5 separate regions of the Homo sapiens genome follow, and regions 1, 2, 3 and 4 are each linked to region 5. Evidence: promoter capture Hi-C in 16 types of primary human blood cells and fetal thymus (Javierre and others, 2016). All regions are on one chromosome and are shown on one strand. Each heading gives the region's core, a stretch centred on a gene start or on the middle of the fragment in contact. The rest is flanking DNA. Distances are from core to core; before and after follow the strand shown. Region 1 overlaps CSNK1G3 (casein kinase 1 gamma 3). Region 2 has its middle 110 kb from the start of CSNK1G3. Region 3 overlaps CSNK1G3 (casein kinase 1 gamma 3). Region 4 overlaps CSNK1G3 (casein kinase 1 gamma 3). Region 5 holds the start of CEP120 (centrosomal protein 120).

Region 1 (2,700 bases), core at 200-2,699, 170 kb after region 5:
CTTCCTTTCATGATTGAAACATACACTTTTTTCTTCAATAGATAAAACAGACTGAAGGATTGAAAATACATATTTTTAATAGATAATCTATTTTCTCTTAATTTCACTGTTTATTAGTTTAATAATAGCATTAAAATGTTTAATCATAAATCCTTAATTAATGGTACAAATTAGTGTAAACTTTTAGGAATATGTGATATTCTGTTAGAATGGAAGTATTTGGATACCCTATTAGAATGAATTGTAATAACACTTGGACTTTCTAACTGTAGTTTAGTTCAATAAATTATTTATTGAATTTCTGCTATTGTAAAGCTACTGTTCTACACATTATAGAAATTCAGAAGTAAAGAAGACTGTATAACCTTTAAGAATGATTTTGTCACCAGTGTCTAAAAGCAGTGTTGTAGCTAAGAGTTCACTCAATTCTTTAGAATCAGGCATACATGGATATGGCTTGACCCTGGGCAAATAAGTTAATCTGTCAAAGCCTCAGTTTCCTCATCTATAAAATGGAAATAATGCATGTTAATTTAGAGCATACAGTAAGCTTTGAATCAAAACTCTTGTGTCTGCTGTTACTGTTATTATTATTACAATAAATACAGAAATAGCTATATTTAAAAAGAGAATAAGCTATATTACATGAAACACTAATAAAGTAGCATGGAGATCATATGTGGGGCTCTATGAAGATTTTATGGAAAAGGTAGCTTTTGACATGAACCTAAAGAATGAATGGAGTTTTTAAAGGGAAATGAAGATAAGGGCATTTTGGGGAGAGTGAATAATATAAAATATGAAGCAGAAGTTTAAAAATAGAGAATTTGAGGAATAGCAAGCGGTTCAAATTTGTTTGGAGCAGGAGGTAGGTAGAGATGGATTAGAGAGGGAGTAGAGAGTCAGTCTGAGATAAGGCATAGAAGTTGATCAAGTAGCGAGTTCATGTTTCCTGGCCAGGTAAAGGAATAGAAAGCTGTTGAAATTTTTGGGCAATGTTTTAATTTTTCTCTCTCTCTTTCTCTTTTTTTTGGTAAAAAAGTTTTATCGAAGACATCTTTGACTTAAAAATTTCACTATCACACTGAGTTAAGGAGTGTCTAGAAATTTTCTCTTACAATCCATTTTGGAGAAGGATAGTATGCCGTCCTTTTTGACTTTTATATTGTTTATCCCATCAAAGTTTAAGTGAAGATTAAAGATTAAAACAGGATGACAATCAAAAGAAAGAACACCACTTGTTAAAAATCATAGCAAAATAAAATGCTACATTTTAGGGAGTGTTTAACAATATTATGCTATATATATATATATAGCATGGCCAGTTTTAAAAGATTAATATTAAATTTTTGACTTAGAAAAATTGGTACTATAAAGCATCTCATACATAAATTACTTCATATATAAATTAAAATTAGTTGATAGCTGGAGTGCTGTGAAAAGATTCTGTATAAAGAAAGAAATGGCTCAGAAGTTGAGACTTAGTTTGTGTTTTATAAACCAGAGTTAATTCCTTGAATGTACTTGGAAGAAGATTAATACGGTATTCTTTGAAATTCTCCACTTGAGCTGTTAGGTATTATAATAAGTGAAATTCCTCTATTGTTGAATTAAATTATAAATCTAATGTTTTAGACTTTTAGTTTTCTACATCTTTCAGACATGTCTTGCTAACTAGAGTATAAGCTCACTGAGGGTAGGAACCATGTTTCATTTGTCCAGTCCTTGCACTAAATGTAGGGTGGGTGTGTGTGTATATATACACACACACACACACACACACACACATATATATAATATTTAGGCAATTCTTTAGGATAGGCTTATATATTGAATTTGGGATGTGAATATACACACTTTCATCATGATAGAAAAGTTGTATATTTAAAAAAAACTTCTTAAATATCTCTAGACCACTAAGCAGCTTAAGTTCTACAAGAAACCCACAGTTCACAATCCCAGAGGAAGATAGATTATGTCACGTGACTTAAACCTTTGTAATGCCCCTAGATAAATGAGTTAAGTTGAGGGGATCCTGAAATTGTTGGGTACATGTAATTGTTTATTTTCAGGAGAGGGCGTGTAGCTCTTACTATATTCTTAGAGAGTTCCATGACCCCAAAATATTGCGCATTGCCCTAGATGTTTGTCTCAATTTTAGCATCATTTTTATTCTTTGATCTTGTCTAGACTTGACTTCATCTGATTTGATTTCAACTTAAGCTACAAATCTGCTTAATTCTGGTTATGGATTTGGAGGGTTTAACGAAAAGACATTATAGAACTGTCATAGTTTTGATGACATACTTTATGCCACAGAGTATGTAATTTTGCATTGTACAATTTAGGAAGCTTAGTGCCAGAACATGTATTCATGTGTCTACTTGAATTTTACATCTCTCCCCTTAAGGTTGTTCTGGCCAACAATATGCTTGAGGCTCCCCATACTCCAATATGCTTGGCACTTTGTGGCAAGATTTTCATGACTTTGTTTGAAAAAGAAAGAAAAGAGTACTGAAGGCTTTAGAATATATTTAATTTTCGTAAGGAGCTAGGTAGTATTATTGGAAGAGCATTATGCTCTGAGTTGGAATTCCTGTTGTACTCCTTGGTAGGTCTGTAACTGTGGGGAAGTGGTTAATGTCTCACTGTCTTCATCAGTAAAAGTGGATGATAATATCTACCTCAAAATATGGTAAT
Region 2 (2,700 bases), core at 127-2,626, 200 kb after region 5:
ATGAAAAATTTTCACATATATTTTATTGATAAAATTCAAAATATATTAATACTTGAATTTTTTGTGTGATACAGGGCTACTAATGATAAGAATCGAGTGATTTTGAGGGGATATCTCACTAAATTGGGGTTCAAAATTAATTGCAAGCATTCATTTGTTAATGCTGGCCTGTAATGTGATTTTTTGTATTTCATCTTTGAAAACATCTTCTCACTCAAATAGATACATCCATGTACTGTTATCAGTTGTGATTGTGTAATTTTAATTGATCATATTCATCATTTGGAAGGTATTTATAGAATTCTATTAGATTCTGCTATTGCCATTTGCCTTTTAGCTGTCATTACATTGCATATTAATCACTTCCTGTTGAAGGTTAGGTGGATGCTCAATTGTATATTTAAGTGAATAATTAAATAGAAAAATTTCCTTTGCAGTTGCCTTAAGGTTCAGTAATGCAGCTTGAACTATAGTAGAACTTGGAAAATACGTTCACTGCAAGTTTGTGCGGGAATGGAGATCTTGTTTCTTATCTTGACAGCATGGGAAATATATAAAGCCAGCTTGATATTACTTGTGATTTAAACAACATTTGTTGCCATCAAAATGACCTTGTCACAGTATGTTTCACATGTAAGTGCTGTTTTGCCTCATAATTGTAGGTTGAATTTATTAGAAAGCATTATTAAGTTTGCAGCAAAAGCTAATTTCCAAAGCTATTCAGTGTTTGAAAATAGTTTGAGGGTGATTCTCCTCATCCATAACGAATTCAGTCTTGGTTCTGAGCTCAAAAAATTACAATAAAACTACCGTTCCAACCTGGGCAACATGGCAAAACCCCGTTTCTACAAAAAATTAGCGAGACATGGTGGCATGCATCCATAGTCCCAGCTACCCAGGAGGCTGAGGTGGGAGGATGTCCTGAGCCCAGGAGTCGAGGCTGCAGCAAGCCATGATTATGCTGCTGCACTCCAGCCTGGGCAACAGAGTGAGATCCTGTGTCTAACAAACAAAGCCAAAAACCTTTACTGCTGCCATCAAACCGCTATGTAATTGGGCAAGTCAGAATACTCAACTTCTATTTCTAACAAAACTAAATGGAACCAATGATGATTAAGATCACAAGTGAATAAAATTTACCATTGACTTTACTAGTTGGATGACAATTCAAATATTTCCCACAAATACCTGCTGATGAATAATGCACCATATAACCATTGAGCAATTTATTCAGCTATGCGGGTTTTTTTTCTTTTTTTTTTTTTTTTTTTTGGCCACTTCACACATTTTTACCACCATGAATTGCCACACATCTTAGCAGATTCTACTTCAGGTTGTACTAAATTGGTGTTTTCTCGACTTCTTTGAAATATTCTTTCCTGTAGTTATTGTATGCAGACTATTCATAAAGGCTAGTTCTTGAGTCACTTCAAACTCAGCATTGACTTCTCAAGTATACAACGGGGCAGTATTGGTAACATTTGTTGACTCACCAAAAGCCAAGCAAAGCTACTTGAAATCATTTGCCTTGTTTTTTAATTAACTGTTGGTGTTGCCACAGTGTCCTCATGTCTCCAAGCAAGTATTCTTGCTGAAAAGCTAGTAGTCATAAAGAAGTTTTTGTTTGGGCCCACTTTCTGGTTGCTACAATCAAACACAATTAAATTAACTCTAACTCACCATCAGTATATAGCTGTCTTTGCTTGGCTAACAAATGAGCCACTCAGAAAGTTACTTTGGTTACACCCTTATTCTAATTTTTTAAATTAGTAGATTATGCTGTGATAAGATACTACATTTTAAGTTTTCTAATTGTTCTGTTGATTTCCTGTGGGTTGGGAATATTGTGATGAGTGCTTAGTCTGGAAATATATTTTTGAGCACAGTGAAAGTGTCATTGCATAATAAACACAATGCTTTGCCATATAGTTCTACTACAATTCACACTCCACTGTGCCTTAAAAGTGCAACACTCAAAGTCCACTTTTTAAAACTTTTTTTGACATGATGTATATGCACTGGTAATAAAAAATAATAAAATGTCCGTATGACAATATGTATGACACTTGAAATGCTGTTGAGTTTTATAGCCATCACTGAGATTTGTAGCATGTTGAATAGCAGTGCAAAACAATGAAAGCACCACATATGGTTACTGTCACAATTATTCACCTCTGCCTTTGTAGCATGAAAGCAGCCATAGTCAATGTGTAAATGAATGAACATGGCTGTGTTCCAATAAAATTTTATTTATGGACACTAAAATTTGAATTTCATATAATTTTTATGTGTCATAAAATTCCCTCTTAATTTTTTTCAACCATTTAGAAATGTTAAGTGTCATTCTTAGTTTGTGAGCTGAGCAAAAATAGGAGGTGGGCTGAACTTGGCCTGCAGACCATAGTTTGCCAACATTTGTTCTGTGCCACACTGGAAAGATTTGAATGTTTGAATTAAATTAGTTTTTACCTAATTGCATGAAACTGCTTACCAAAAGATGACCTTTCCTCCTTTTATGAAAGAAAATTTCATTTTGAAGTAGCACCAAGAATTAAAATATTATGGAAAATGCAACCACAGTACATATGGGAGTTAGAAATCAAATGAGGTCTAAGTCTGGCTCACGTATGAACTTAGATATTGAAGCAGTGTGCAGCTTTAGAAAGAGCATGAATGTCAGAATTAGACAAATTTAATTTC
Region 3 (2,700 bases), core at 86-2,585, 150 kb after region 5:
TATTCATTGACTCATTAATTCTACAAATTTATCCTATGGATGTTTTCATAGGTACTTAAAGCTTTATATGAAAGGATGTTTATAATAAAAAAAGGAGAAGCAACCCAAATATGCAGAAATAACAGGGTTAGTTGAATAAATTAATATCCAGAGGAAAATATGCAGCTGTTAAAAAGTGCATATTAAAGATTGTTTTATAGGCTAGGTGTGGTGGCTTGTGCCTGTAATCCCAGCACTTTGGGGAGTCTGAGGCTAGAGGATCACTTGAGCCCAGGAGTTCAAGATCAATCTGGGCAACATAGTGTGACTCTGTCTCTACAAAAATAAAAATAAAAAAAAAAATAAGCCAGGTGTGGTGGTGTGCTTGTGTAGTCCCAACTGCTGAGGAGGTTGAGGCAAGAGGATTGCTTGAGCCCGGAGGTTAAAGGTTGAAGCTGCAATGAGCTATGCGTTCCATCCTGGGTGGCAGAGTGAGACCCTGTCCCTGCCCCCACACACAAAACATCAAAAAACCAACCAACTGCCCCCAAACAAAACAAAGAATATTTCATGACTTTGCAAATGCTCATATCATTAATTAAGAATATATAGACATAGAATATTGTACATTATATGCTGCAAAGTTTGTTAAACAAACTAGAATGGCCTGTGTAGCCATATGTTTACATTGCATTGTTAACCATGATTATCACTAAATGAAGCAGTTTTATTTTCTTATTTGTAATACTCTATTTTATGACAGTTTGTACAATGAACATTGAGAATCTGTAAAATAATTAACAAAAATGAGCTATATTATTAATATTAGAGTTGGATTTCAGACTTTTCTAGCTTTATGATCTTTCTAGCTTCAAGATTAATCATTTTTAAATGTTTAATACCTAGGAAAAAGTAAAGGAAACATGTTATGAAAAAGAAAAAGATACTGAATAGTGCTGTTGTTTTTACTTAATAGTTTAGACTCTTAAGTTTCTTTAATATACTTGTAAAAGTTGCTTGGTTATTGAACTGATAAGGAAGATTATATTGCAATGTTTTGCATATGTCTGCTTATACTTTTGGGTTCAAGGTCTTATATCAATGTGGCTTTTTGATTTTATGAAGTAGCATCCTCTGAAAGTGTTCATTGAATCAGGCTTGCTGATATGAAAGGAATTCATAAAATTCAAATACTCTCGTTTAGCAGTGACCATAACAGTAAAGGCAAAGATTTTAAATTGCAATTTGCTATGTGAAGAATGATAGGCTGACATCATTTTACTTTTAAAGGGTTGAAACAATTTCTGATTTATTTCTTTTGTATGTTTTCATTCTGTCTTGCCTTTATCATACTTGCTTAGGCTAGTCAAAGCCCAAAATAAAACTTCTCTTCTTTTTTTCTTAAACCAAGATTTCTCGCATGGAATATGTCCATTCAAAGAACTTGATATACAGAGATGTAAAACCTGAGAACTTCTTAATAGGACGACCAGGAAACAAAACCCAGCAAGTTATTCACATTATAGATTTTGGTTTGGCAAAGGAATATATTGATCCGGAGACAAAGAAACACATACCATACAGAGAACACAAGAGCCTTACAGGAACAGCTAGATATATGAGCATAAACACACATTTAGGAAAAGGTATGTGTACCTTTCGTAAGTATGGAAGTTTGAACTTAGCAGCTGTGCTAACACTGTGAGTTTTTATTTGTTATGGTTCAGTTTTTGCAGATTATAATAGCTTTTATTATAATTTTCATTTATCACATCTACCTAGAGTTTACTTTCACTTATATTTTAATAAAACTCTTTGAAAGTAAGTTACTATAGAGTAAATGAGTGACAGCTATCTTTACATTCACTGTATTTTTTGTATTTATATAACTTGAAGTGTTCAACTTTGATACAGTTATGGGGATGCATTTAATCATTTCTCTTACAAAATATGAGAGAATACCAAATTTTAACTGAATTCAGTACATGTGGAAATTTTGGATTGAGACCATAGCTCTCCAATATGGCTAGCCACAGAAATAGCAACTAGCCTAATAAGTATAATGCTAACAGCATATACCTTAGAGGTGGGCAGAGCTGGCTTACCTGTATGCTAACTATGACTTCGGACAAGTTTAACCTTTTTAAGGGGTTTCTTATTGGTAAAAAGAGTAAAACAATATCAACTTCACAGGATTTTTTATAGCATTCTTCCTTCACCCAGATTCATATTTATCATATCCCTTAAATCATTTTCATCTGGAACAGTTCCTCAGTCGTTCGTTATGGCTCATGACCTTAATATTTTTTAGGAGCACAGGCTATTTTATAGGATATCTCCAATTTGGGTCTGTTATTTCTTTTTGACTAGATTTGGGTAGGCATTTTGAGCACAAATATCACAGAAGTGATGTGTTCTTAGTGCATCATGTTGGGATCACTTGCTTGGACGATATCTGCCAAATTTCTCTACTGAAAAGTTTCTTGTAGTTAGATTTTGGGATTATGTAAACATGTTGTTCCTCATCAGATTTTTGCCCTCTAGATTTAGCATCCATTGATGATTTTCTAACTCCATTATTTCTAATATTTACATTTCCTTATTTGTCAGTTGATATTCTAATGTCAGCAGAAGCTTTACCTTCTCCCCCAGTTATTGACTTATGTCTATATGAACTTATTAATTCTTATCTTATTTAATGTAATGTATTGAATGCATTAT
Region 4 (2,700 bases), core at 85-2,584, 130 kb after region 5:
CTGGATCTTGGCCCTATTTTTAATTTAGGGAAGGATTTTTAATTAGATAAAAATTAACAAGATTTTGCCTTCTGATTCAAACATTTTGGTAAAACAAAAGTGTTCTTAGTATTCAGGATTATATTCTTTGAAAACATACTTCCAGGTAGCTTCTGAAATTTCTTTTTAAATTGTTACTTCATATATATGGCAAAGCTGGCTATTGCTTGACTTTGAGGGATGCAGAAATGCTTGATGTGGTAGGTGATAGATAACAGGGAAAGCAAACTCCCGTGGAATTATTCTGAAGTTTTCAATGTGCCCAGTATGACAGCTGCAGAGCAGAGCGATCTCTTTGGAAAAATTGGGATCTAGGAATTATTTTTGTAAGACATACTTTTCCTGGTACAACTTTTCTGTCTGGTTTGCAGCCAGGTTTCCCTGTTTCATTCATTAAGTGGTGATCCTTAGGTCCTATTGTTTATAGATTTGGAACTTTTTCATACCATTGATGCCTTACTAAACATTTATCATGTCATCTTTCAGCCTTCTTATATACATACACATATATGTATGTGTATGAGGTTTAGCATGGCTTGGTTTTCTCTGCCTTTTTCAACCTTGTCTCTGTCAATATAACCTCTGTTATTAGGGTAATATGAAATGAATATATAAAAGAGAGACTATTAGGAGAAGAGGCAAATGGGAGGAAATAGAAAAACTCCACTATTTAATTTTAAGTATCTTTTGAATATAGACCAAGTTTTAGTGTAACAAATGTTTATTTTCACTTGAAATAAAGATGTGGAGTAGGGTTGCAGTGCCATGAAGAGAGATTGGTTGGCTGACATGTGGCTTTAGACTGGATTTTACCTAGATGAGTCCGTCTTGGTATTAAGATCTGGTCCTTGGCTTATGAAACAAAACGTGATTAGGTTATCTCACCAGTTGTCAGCGTTTCTTAGAGGTGGATTCACAGTAATCAGTTCACACTATCAAGCTCTCAGATTCAGGAAAGAGTGAATTTCTAACTAATAATGAGGTATTTTACAGGTCTAGAAAGCCCAAGTTTCTTTCTATGGGCCGATGTACATAGAAAGCCAAGTTAAAATTTCAAGGTCCCCTCATGAGCATGAAATCAGAAAGAGGTTGGTGAATATTAATCACAGCGGGGAGGCCTACTGTGGGATCCGCCTGCCTCGGCCTCCCAAAGTGCTGGGATTACAGGCGTGAGCCACTGTGCCCAGCCTGGACGTTGTTTGAACAGGCATTGCTGACTTTCATTTCTTTGAAATTCTTCCTTTTCTCATGTTGTAGGCCAGTGGTCCTGAACCTACAACAATCTTTGTGGTGTGCAAGGATAAAAGTGTGGCAGTGTTTACAGTCTGTGCTATTGATACAACAGCCTGTAGTGGGCAGCTCTACTCATGGGAGCATGCTTTGTATGTGAATGATAGTTATCTGATATATTAAGGCAGATAAACCATCGTGTCAAAGCAGAAACCCCTGCTCTAGGCTGAGCTTTCCTTGTCTGTTTCATTCATTAAGTGGTGATCCTTAGGTCCTGTTATTTATAGATTTGGAACTTGTTCATACCATTGATGCCTTACTAAACGTTTATTATGTCATCTTTCAGCCTTCTTATATACATACACATATATCACTTTTTTAAGTTTATTTTTGTGCTGTATCTCTGTCCTCTTAACTAGTTTTCTCCCCTTTTTAGGGGGAAACATTCTTCCTCCTCTCTGTTTTGTCTTTCTTTAAAGCACAATGATCAGCATTACATGTAATAATTATGGTTATACATTGTTCTTTGGGGGAACTAGGAATATTTTTGGATCTATGTCTCTAGTATTTTGAGGTTGTAGAGTGGTATCTAGTCACGTTCACCTCAAGTTCATCCAAAATATCGGAAGGACAGAAAACTTTTCACATACATTGTTGAATGATAGTTCATGATTTCCTTATATGTTTTTTCATTTGTGTCTGTTATATCTGTTTGTGCCAGATAACATGATTTTGTTTAGACCTGCCATAAAAGTAATCACTTGAACATCTTATGTCTGCATACCTCAGTGTTATCTGGCTTTTATACTTTGCTCGGTACAAATAAAGGCATTATTTGATAACCTGAGTTCAGAGAGCAGATTTCTGTGACTGCTTTCACTCCATTATCTCTTACAAAGATTTTTTACATTTATCTAATATTACCCTAGTTCAGATCAACAGTTTGTTTCAGGATAATTTGTTAATATTACCTCAGCTACCATCCTTATATCTTGTTGTACATGAATAATGAAAATGTCATCCTGGGGAAGGTGACTTTTATTATATAGTGTTAAAATTTTACTGCTTAAGTACTGGAATCTAGTTGAAATGACTCAACTAAGTCAGATTTGGGTCAGTATTTTTATCCTAAGGGGGAGTAGTGATTGAATAAGTTATATATTTAATTTCATTTGTGATTGTGTACATGGACATCTTTTTATTGCATCTTAAGGTTATGTACTTCTAGGTAGTTAACTGAAGAATTATAGGTAATATAGTGCTATATGTATAGAAGGCACTGTTTTAAGTACTTTATATATAAGAAAGGTTAAGTTTTAACCCAATTTTACAGATGAGGGAACTGGAAAGTACAGAAAAGTTAAGTAACTTGCTGAAAGTCACACAGCTAGAAATAGAGGATTTAGGATTCAAACCTAGTACAATTTAGTT
Region 5 (2,700 bases), core at 105-2,604:
TATCTCCTATGCCCTCCACTTTCTTGCAAATCTGTTCTCCAACCACACTGAATTTAACCAATGTTTACTGAGTGAATTTAATTAAGCAAGGCAAAACGTGTCTTGCTTTTCCATACTTTAAGTGCTCCCTGCTCTTCTCTTTGCCTGGAATGCCCTTCCTTTTTTCACCTGACAAATTCCTAATCATCTGTAGGACCCCAAAAAATGCCACCTCCTCTAGTGAAACTTCCGCAGTTTCCTTAGACAGAGGTGGTCATTCATTAGGGTCTTCCACATCCTGATGAATTATTTGCTGACACACTCTCCTTGCTACATCCTTAGCTTTTTAGAATCAGGACTGTTTCATTCTTACATTCCCAGCACAGTGTCTGACACTCAATGAGTCCCAATAAACCAATGTCATTCATCCAAAACACACCTTTTAAGGAATGTATAATACACCCTCTTAAGAACTGTAGTCCCCTGAGTCCTCCAGCAAGACGTGTAAAGGGAATTGCCTCCGGAACACTTCTGGAATCGCAGGAAGCCTGTATTCAAGTCAAAGCTCTTACAAGTGCTATTATTGGGAACCGCTGATCAGAACGCGCTTCTCAGGACCACGTTCAGCTCATATATAAAAGCCATCGACGTGCTGCTTTGGATGAAAATCGTTTTCTCTAGATTCTCTGGGGCTACGGCTAGTCACGCTAAATATCACTTATCCCTAATAGCGCTCATATCCCTGGAGAGATTTTTAAATCAATTGCCTAACAGACCTCACTACGTACAACTTTGAACAAGTCTGTGGGGACCACAAAAGCACAGATGACAGGGTTCTTAAGGTTAACAAGGCCTCGGTCCCACACTAAGCTTTTAAAACTCGGGAGGCAGCAGTTGCAAAAGCAAGCCTCAGGCTGCTCACCTTCTAGGATGGACACGACGATGAGCAATTGGTCGGATTTGGAGACCATGGTTGCGGTGAGCGGTCCGGGGGCGAAGGCGGCTGGGGGGAAGTGAGGTCCAGTTGAGTCGCGGGTAATCCGGGACCCCCGGCGGGACCCCCACTGCCCGCCCCCGGTCCCTGATGCCCGGACCCCGCTCCGCAGCCAGGTCCCACCGCCGTCTGCTGCAGCGCGCCCGGCTCCTCTGCCTCGGGCCGCCAGCCCAGATCCTAACTGTGCCCCGACTCAAGGAAAAAGCCACGCTGCAGCCCTGCCAGTCTGCAAGCAGAGACAAGCCCGCCACCCGAGGACCTTTTGCCGCCTGCGTAGCCGCTTTTCAAACGCCCGGGCGGCCGCAGCGGCCGCCGCCGCGCCCAGCTTCCGCCTAGCAACCAGGCCCGCAGGCCCAGTGCCCAGGGGAGGTTGGAGGACAACGGGTGATAGAGACAGAGCAGTCAAGGCTAGAACGCCCGTCAGCGAGCTTCGCCTCCCGCCCTTTTACGCTCTGTTCCAGAGCCCTAAGGAGGACGCCTTCATTACCTCACAGCGCCCTCTGCTAGCCGGACGAGGAGAGGCGGGCGACTTGGTGTGGGACCAGCTGCGCAAGCGCACTACTGCTGTAAACGCTTCCTGAAGCTGCGTAGCCTTTAAGGAGCGTGAGTGTAGCGTATTACCTGCTTTATGCTTCAGCCACAACCTGAGAGTTATATTAGTGGGGATTAAAAAAACAAAAAAACCTAGCTTAGTTGACGTACCCAGTGTCAACACTGCTTAAAAAATTAAATCACAAAAAAATAATGACTTAAATCTAAACTCTAAAGTCCCTAAATCGTGCTCACGCGGCACCTCAAATTTCCGACCTTTGAAAACAAGTAGCTTCAATACGGTAATTACTGTACTTGTTAAAGCTGACGTAAACTCCCCGAGAATTTCCTGTCCCTTAGAAATTACCCCTAAAACAAAAACACTGTCACGTGGGCAATGAAATATAAAGGTTCTTCCACCCCCGATGACAAAGTTATTAGCAAACTCAAAACCAAAAATAAACAAGGCATTGAGGTGCTGTCTGCCGACCCTTTCCCCTTAACGTCTCCCAAATTCAGATTTAAGAAACGGTTCAAGACTTGTAAAGGGAACGGCCTCCTAAACACTACTCAAATTGCAAGAAGCATGTATTCAAGTCAAAGGCAAAGTTCTTTTGGAGGTTATCTAGCTTGAAACTTAAATAACCGAATTGGTTGGAGCGATCGTGGACACTATTAAGTTTGGGAAAAATTCTGCTTCGGAAAACAAAAGTAAATCATAATAAAATAAAGCTGCAGAGATAGCACTAGGTAGTGGACATAAGTGCGGCTTCTCCTATTACTTTCTGGTTTTGTAAATTGAGAAGTTGTTTTGAGAGCAAATATAATATCTCGCTGTTTTCTTTTTCTTCTATTGCTTCCTTGTTTTGGAAATTTAGAAGTTATTTTGAGAGCAAATAATATAATATCACTATTGTTTTCTTCTTCCTCTTCTTTATTCTTCCTTCTTTGCTTTCTGCCCAAAAGAAAAGGAGGAATATGTAGAGATTGGACTAATTACTTCTAAGGCCCTTTCAGGTCCTATCACAGGCATTCTTAAAATGAAGCACTATTCAATGTAAAATCAAAGTAATGATCTACTTTGGATTCATCATTGAACAATGCATTATTTTTGTGGAAGATGTCAAACATACTTTAAAGAAAGCAGAATGATATAATGAACCCCCAGTTACCCAGACCCCAGCTTCAACGATTAT

Evidence for each region. The method cuts DNA at HindIII sites, captures the fragments that hold promoters and counts their contacts. A CHiCAGO score of 5 or more calls a contact.
Region 1: a fragment that was not itself captured here is called in contact with the fragment with the promoter of CEP120 in region 5 in 8 of 17 cell types (total CD4 T cells, activated CD4 T cells, total CD8 T cells and 5 more); the score reaches 12.8 in total CD4 T cells.
Region 2: a contact is called between a fragment that was not itself captured here and the fragment with the promoter of CEP120 in region 5, in 5 of 17 cell types (total CD8 T cells, activated CD4 T cells, non-activated CD4 T cells and 2 more). The highest score is 8.9, in total CD8 T cells.
Region 3: a fragment that was not itself captured here is called in contact with the fragment with the promoter of CEP120 in region 5 in 8 of 17 cell types (naive CD8 T cells, total CD8 T cells, activated CD4 T cells and 5 more); the score reaches 11.4 in naive CD8 T cells.
Region 4: a fragment that was not itself captured here is called in contact with the fragment with the promoter of CEP120 in region 5 in 8 of 17 cell types (total CD4 T cells, naive CD4 T cells, total CD8 T cells and 5 more); the score reaches 10.2 in total CD4 T cells.

What each region holds. Positions count from the first base shown.
Region 1 is chr5:123,591,442-123,594,141 of GRCh38, forward strand. The region is part of intron 10 of CSNK1G3 (casein kinase 1 gamma 3); the gene reads left to right. Among named protein-coding and RNA genes, the nearest start is that of CSNK1G3, 81 kb to the left of the region's middle. The HindIII fragment of the contact is 1,802 bases long and covers 549-2,350 here.
Region 2 is chr5:123,618,276-123,620,975 of GRCh38, forward strand. No RefSeq gene overlaps it. Among named protein-coding and RNA genes, the nearest start is that of CSNK1G3, 110 kb to the left of the region's middle. The HindIII fragment of the contact is 3,805 bases long and covers 1-2,700 here.
Region 3 is chr5:123,574,339-123,577,038 of GRCh38, forward strand. It overlaps CSNK1G3 (casein kinase 1 gamma 3), which reads left to right. Exons shown (of 14, transcript NM_001364140.2): 6 at 1,391-1,625. Among named protein-coding and RNA genes, the nearest start is that of CSNK1G3, 64 kb to the left of the region's middle. The HindIII fragment of the contact is 2,552 bases long and covers 60-2,611 here.
Region 4 is chr5:123,553,399-123,556,098 of GRCh38, forward strand. The region is part of intron 3 of CSNK1G3 (casein kinase 1 gamma 3); the gene reads left to right. Among named protein-coding and RNA genes, the nearest start is that of CSNK1G3, 43 kb to the left of the region's middle. The HindIII fragment of the contact is 8,472 bases long and covers 1-2,700 here.
Region 5 is chr5:123,422,049-123,424,748 of GRCh38, forward strand. It overlaps CEP120 (centrosomal protein 120), which reads right to left and starts at 1,355. Exons shown (of 20, transcript NM_001375405.1): 1 at 902-1,355. The coding sequence starts at 950. RefSeq lists an enhancer at 621-1,566 and a silencer at 896-1,055. The HindIII fragment of the contact is 3,797 bases long and covers 848-2,700 here.